2 separate regions of the Homo sapiens genome follow, and region 2 is linked to region 1. The links are contacts of gene promoters, found by promoter capture Hi-C in human tissues and cell types (Jung and others, 2019). All regions are on one chromosome and are shown on one strand. Each heading gives the region's core, a stretch centred on a gene start or on the middle of the fragment in contact. The rest is flanking DNA. Distances are from core to core; before and after follow the strand shown.

Region 1 (2,700 bases), core at 48-2,547:
CAGGCAGTGCCACTGACATTTCACCCGCTGCCGTGAGGAGGTTTTTAACATTTGCAGGAAGTCTGGCTTCTATGGGGTGTCCAGGTGAAACCTTAACAATCTTTAATCAGCATTCTGATTGGCTTAAGGCTTGTTTGGAAAAAATTAAGAGTTTTGTTCCTAGAGTTCTCCATTGCTAAAGGGTAATTAAGTCCAAAAGCTGTTTTCAAAGCGATTTCCAAGCTCAAGGGCCCTAGATATCTGGACCTAGCCGTGTCCGGGTACAGGGCTGGGGGGCGTGGGGGGATGCCCTAAGAGGCTGGTTAACAGAAATATCACAGTATGTGGTACCCACAGCAGAGAGCAGGGAAGAATGTACTGACTGGGGTGGGGGAGGCCAAGGAAAACCTTCTGGAGTAGGGTGTAACTGGCAGAAGAGGAAAAAGAAACCAGACAGGAACTCCGGGAGCTCCTGGACTGATCGTTTAAGGCCGGGCACAAGGGGTAAGGGATCAGGCTTCACTATCGACCGACCTGGGCTGAATGATACCGGTTGACTGTGTGACAAAAGCAAATCAAGAACCTCTCTGCGGCTCATGAGTAAGCCAGAGACTTACATAGGACAACACATACCCTATCACCCGAGGATGAGACGGGATGACACACACGAAGTGCCCCGCACAGCGTCGTTGTAAAGCGTTGGCTGTTTTCACCTCTGGCCGCCCCCTGTGAGCCCGATCATGTGCTTTTTGGGCTTAGGTCGGAGGCGGCCTCCCAGATTCTACAGGCCATTGAGGTCGTAACAAGCGTCTCCATCAGAGCCTAGTCCTTAACTAGCTGCGGGTAAGTGCCCGGACTAAGTGGCCTCAGTTTCCCCTCGAAGCAACGGGACCAATCGCACCGCCGGCAGGACATCTTGTGCGGGGCGCGAAGTGACAAAAGTCAGGATTTGCAGAAGTTCCCACTCGGTAACGACCCCCACCCCGGCAAGGAGCACAGTAGGCGCTCCGGAAACGCCCTCCACGAGGAGGGCCGGGCCACTTCCTGCCCCCGAGCGGGCTCTCCCCGGCGGAGGCTCCCACCGCCGCTATGGGTAGGCCATGCAGCATTCCTGAGGGCGGGGTGGGCGCAGGAAGAAGGTGCCCGCGGCCCCGCCCCCTCCGGGCGCGCTGGGCGGGGCGAAGCCCCTCGGCGCCGACGGCCCGCCCCGCGGGGGGTGGGCGCAGCTCGTCGCGCTCCGCACAAAGTTTGTTTTCTCCCTCCGGGCGGGTGGGGGAGGGCGCAGAGGGCGCGGGGGGAGGAGAGGGGATCTGACGTCAGGCCGCGAGGTGCTTTCCAGCCGCGAGCTGTCAGGCCGAGTGTCAGGCCGGGCAGGTACGCGGCGCGCGCCCCCGGCGCCCCCCGCTCCCCGCCGGGACGCCCCGCGCCGAGCCGGAGGCCGCGTGGACCCGAAAGCCGCTGGGAAAAGTCAGTGCAGGGAGCAGCAGAGGGCCAGATGGGGGTGGGGGCGCGCGGACAACTTGGAAAGTTTCTTTTTCTCGGCCGGACGGGGAGGGGGCGTCGTCCTGGCGCGTGCGGTAGGGGGTGTGTGAGCTCGGGGGTGTTTGTGAGTCCCGACGGCCCCCGGGGGGTGTTTGTGAGTCCCGACGGCGCTGCGCTCCGGGGGCCGGTGGGGGACTGTTCCAGCCCCCGGGAGGAAGCCCGCTTGGGGCCCTGGTGGGGGGCCCAGCTTCATAGGATCCCACCCCAGGAGAGGGCCGATCCTGCACCGGACCTGAGTGAGCGCGCGGGGGGACGGATTTGTTTGGTTTCAAAAGTGCACGTTGCTAACCGCCAGCAGGGCCCCCCCGCCGCCGAGCCGGACAGGGGGCGGCCGAGAGTGACAGCTGGGGGTGGGGGCCGCGGGAAGGGCCCGGAGCGGGGGGGCCCTGGGGAGCCCGCGCGAGTTCCCCTTTCCTTTGGAACAAAGGAAAGTCTGTCTCCGAGGCATCTGTCACTCCCAGGCTGGCCAAGGAAGCGGGGCGCGTGGGGCCGGCGCCCCGGAGAAAGTTTGTTCGCGCCGGGACCCTCGGGCAGGCCGAAGGTGATCCAAGCCTCCCGCGGGAGAAGCGCGTAGTCTCCGGGGCAGGGGGCGGCCAACATGGAGTCTGGGCGCAGGGCTGGGGGGGGGGGGGCGGCGCGGAGGTGGGAGCCCAGCCCCCTCCCCTCCCTTCCCCTCCCCTCCCCCTCCGGGCCCAGTTCGGAGCACAAAGCCGAGCGCGCACGCTCCGCCGTCCCCGCGCCCCGAAGAGTCGGCCAGCCCCGAACTGCCGGAGTAGGGGTGGGAACCAAACTTTTTCCTGCCCCGGGACAGACACGTGAGTTTTCTTTCTTCCAGAGCCCCCGTCCCACCGGGATGGCGGGCCCGCGCGGGAGCTGGTGCGCGGAGTCGGCCCGGGGTGTGGGGACTGTGGGGTGCAAGCGCCCCGAGCGCCGGACGATTCCTCGCCGACCCAGGAGCCATGTGCTCCGACTCGGTCTGGGCCGCGGGGGAGGTTGCGCGCTTTGTCTGAACTGCTGGGAATGCGGGCGTGAGTGCGCGGCCCGGGGGAGTGTCGGGACCAGCTAGGGGAGTTGTCAGAAAGTTCGTGCGGGAGTGGCTGCAGGTGGCGTCGTGGGAGTCTGTAGGAGGGTGTACGGGATGTTGTGTCGAGGGGTTGCTGCCACAGGTCACTGAGGGTA
Region 2 (2,700 bases), core at 60-2,559, 640 kb after region 1:
CTGCATTCAGTCTTTGCTGTTTGACAGACTTAGTAGCTAAGGCAGTAAATCAAGAACTTGGTCATAGTGAATTTTCTTTTATTTGTAAGTTTTTCATTTTCCATTATAATTTAGCATTACTGTCTTACATGAAATTTAGTTAGTAGAAAAAATAAAAATCACCCATAATTCCACTGAGCCTTAAACTCTTAAAGTGTTTTGTGTGATAGGCTTTGGTGGGTTTAGAAAAGTGCTTGATGCCAAATAGGTGACAAAAAGCACCAAGTGACACATACGTAACACTATAATGAAGCTATTTGGGTAAAGGATAAAAGAAAATCAGTAATCTTTCATAATGAACTTTGTTGATGTTTAGCTAACTCTAGCTGGGTTGAAGATCGAAGTAGCTTTAAGGATAGAAAGCCTTATTTACCTGATGCTTTGTGGGAAAGAGGTAGTTCACCTTAGTATTTTTCCCAGCTAATTGAAATTTACCCCATCTGGCATGGTGGCTTTCATTGTAATCTTTTTAGATAGAAGTTTATTTAAGATGAGTGACACATTTTCCTACTTTCTTACTTCCAATTTAAGATGGTTTCTTTGTCTTTCATGACCTTGACACTTGAAGAGGATGGGCTCTCAATCTGTAGAATGTCTCTCCGTTTGTGTTTGTCTGATGTTTCTTCATGATCAGGTTCAGGTCATGCATTTTCCGCAGTTCTATCCCAAAAGTAATGCTCTGCCCTACTCAGAACAAGAAGTATATGATGTCGATATGTCTTATTACAGGTCATGTTAACCTTGATCACTTGAGTAAGGTGATTGTGTGCTAGGTTTCTCTGCTGTAAAGTTGCTGTTTTTCTGCTTGTATTTAAGTGTCTTGTGGGGTGGTACTTTGAGACTCTGTAAGTATCCTAATGATGTTGTCTGTAATAGTTATTACTGTGGTGTTTGCCAAAGGGTGATTTTCTCTTTCATTCCTTCTACATTTTAAAAATTGGAATTCTGCTGTAAGAAAATAACTGTGTTTTATACCATTTTATTTATAACTATCATAATTCTTTATCATAACATGTTTATAATGTAATATATTTTCTATAATTCATATGTTTACAATAATTGCATCATGGACATTTATTTTACTATATACATTGTGGTCCATGACTCATTTATCTTGTTGCTCATTTTATCCTAGGTTTGGCCTTTGGAGAGCTCCTCAAATTGGCTCCTGTGACACTTGCTTTCTTTTAATGACAGAATTAATAGCTAGAAAGTTTGACCTTTTCAAAAATGCGGCATTACTTCCCATAGGTAGATTCAACACTTGCATTTAAAGTTTGGCAGAAAGGAAGATGTTTTCTGGAACTCGAATCTCTTCACCTCATGTGTTGACCTTTTTAGCATGAGACATCTGATCTTAGTTCGTTCACTATGGATAGAAGCTATTGTAGCGTATGCCTTGATCCTTTCAAATCCACATTCTTATAATGTTAGTTTCCTATGTTAAGAGGACTTATTTGCAACTGAACATATTAAAAGGAAAGTTCTTTTTTTCTTTTCTTTTTTTTTCTTGAAACCTCTTCTTCCCTGTACTTCGAGTCCATCTTAAATGCCAGGCTTATACCTCACAGTTCTTAACCCCTTCCTTTCTTTTCACTTCTACCTTCTAGTCAGTTACCAAGTCCTATTGATTCCACCTCTGATTGTCTTTTCCATGAGTCTTTTGCTGTTACAGTCACCAAATTGCTCTATTCTCCATATTCGTACCAATATTTGGTATTTTTAGGTTTTAGTAATCTGATGCATATGAAAAGGTATCTTGTTTTAATGTCTTTCCTTGGTTACTGGTAAAGTTAAACATCTTTTTATATATTTATTAGCCAATTACATTTCCTTTCCAGTGAATTGTTTTATATCTTTGCCTGGTTTTCTTTTGGTTTGTTAGTCTTATTACTGATTTTTAGGAGTGATATATGTTTAGTTGTGAGCATCAGATATCTTCCCCTAGAATTGCTTTATGGCATCTCTTGAAGCACAAAATTTAATTTTAATGAAGCCTAATTTAAATGTCTTTTCCTAGGGCCAGGTGAGGTGGCTCACACCTGTAATCCCAGCACTTTGGGAGGCCAAGGCAGGCGGATCACCTGAGGTCAGGAGTTCAATACTAGCCTGGCCAACATGATGAAACCCCATCTCTACTAAAAACACAAAAAGTAGCCAGGCGTGGTGGCACGTGCCTGTAATCCCAGCTACTCGGGAGGCTGAAGCAGGAGAATCGCTTGAACCTGGGAGGTGGAGGTTGCAGTGAGCTGAGATCGTGCCACCGCACTCCAGCCTGGGCAATGGAGCCAGACTCTGTCTCAAAAAAATAAATAAATAAATAAAATACAAGTTTTTTTGCTAGACTGTGTTTTTTATATCTTCTTTAAAACAATCCTGTGCTACCCCAAAGTCAAAAAGATATTCTCCAATGTTTTCTTTTTTTATTTTTATTTTTGTTTTTGAGACAGAGTCTCGCTCTGTCACTCAGGCTGGAGTATAGTGGTGCCATCTTGGCTCACTGCAGCCTCTGCCTCCGGGGTTCAAGCGATTCTCCTGCCTCAGCCTCCCGAGTAGCTGGGACTACAGGTGCATGCCACCACACCTGGCTAATTTTTGCATTTTTAGTAGATACAGGGTTTTGCTATATTAGCCAGGCTGGTCTCCAACTTTTGGCCTCAA

Evidence for each region. Contacts are between HindIII fragments. The study calls those that stand out against the background at their distance.
Region 2: a contact is called between a fragment that was not itself captured here and the fragment with the promoter of TGIF2 in region 1, in 1 of the 25 tissues and cell types used here (adrenal gland).

The regions. Positions count from the first base shown.
Region 1 is chr20:36,572,300-36,574,999 of GRCh38, forward strand. TGIF2 (TGFB induced factor homeobox 2) reads left to right here and starts at 1,298. Exons shown (of 3, transcript NM_021809.7): 1 at 1,298-1,446. It overlaps TGIF2-RAB5IF (TGIF2-RAB5IF readthrough), which reads left to right and starts at 2,216. Exons shown (of 5, transcript NM_001199535.2): 1 at 2,216-2,336. DLGAP4-AS1 (DLGAP4 antisense RNA 1) reads right to left here and starts at 976. Exons shown (of 5, transcript NR_109939.1): 1 at 613-976. RefSeq lists an enhancer at 415-474 and silencers at 975-1,294, 1,325-1,414, 1,485-1,654. The HindIII fragment of the contact is 15,161 bases long and covers 1-2,700 here.
Region 2 is chr20:37,213,998-37,216,697 of GRCh38, forward strand. The region is part of intron 9 of RPN2 (ribophorin II); the gene reads left to right. Among named protein-coding and RNA genes, the nearest start is that of MROH8, 36 kb to the left of the region's middle. The HindIII fragment of the contact is 9,723 bases long and covers 1-2,700 here.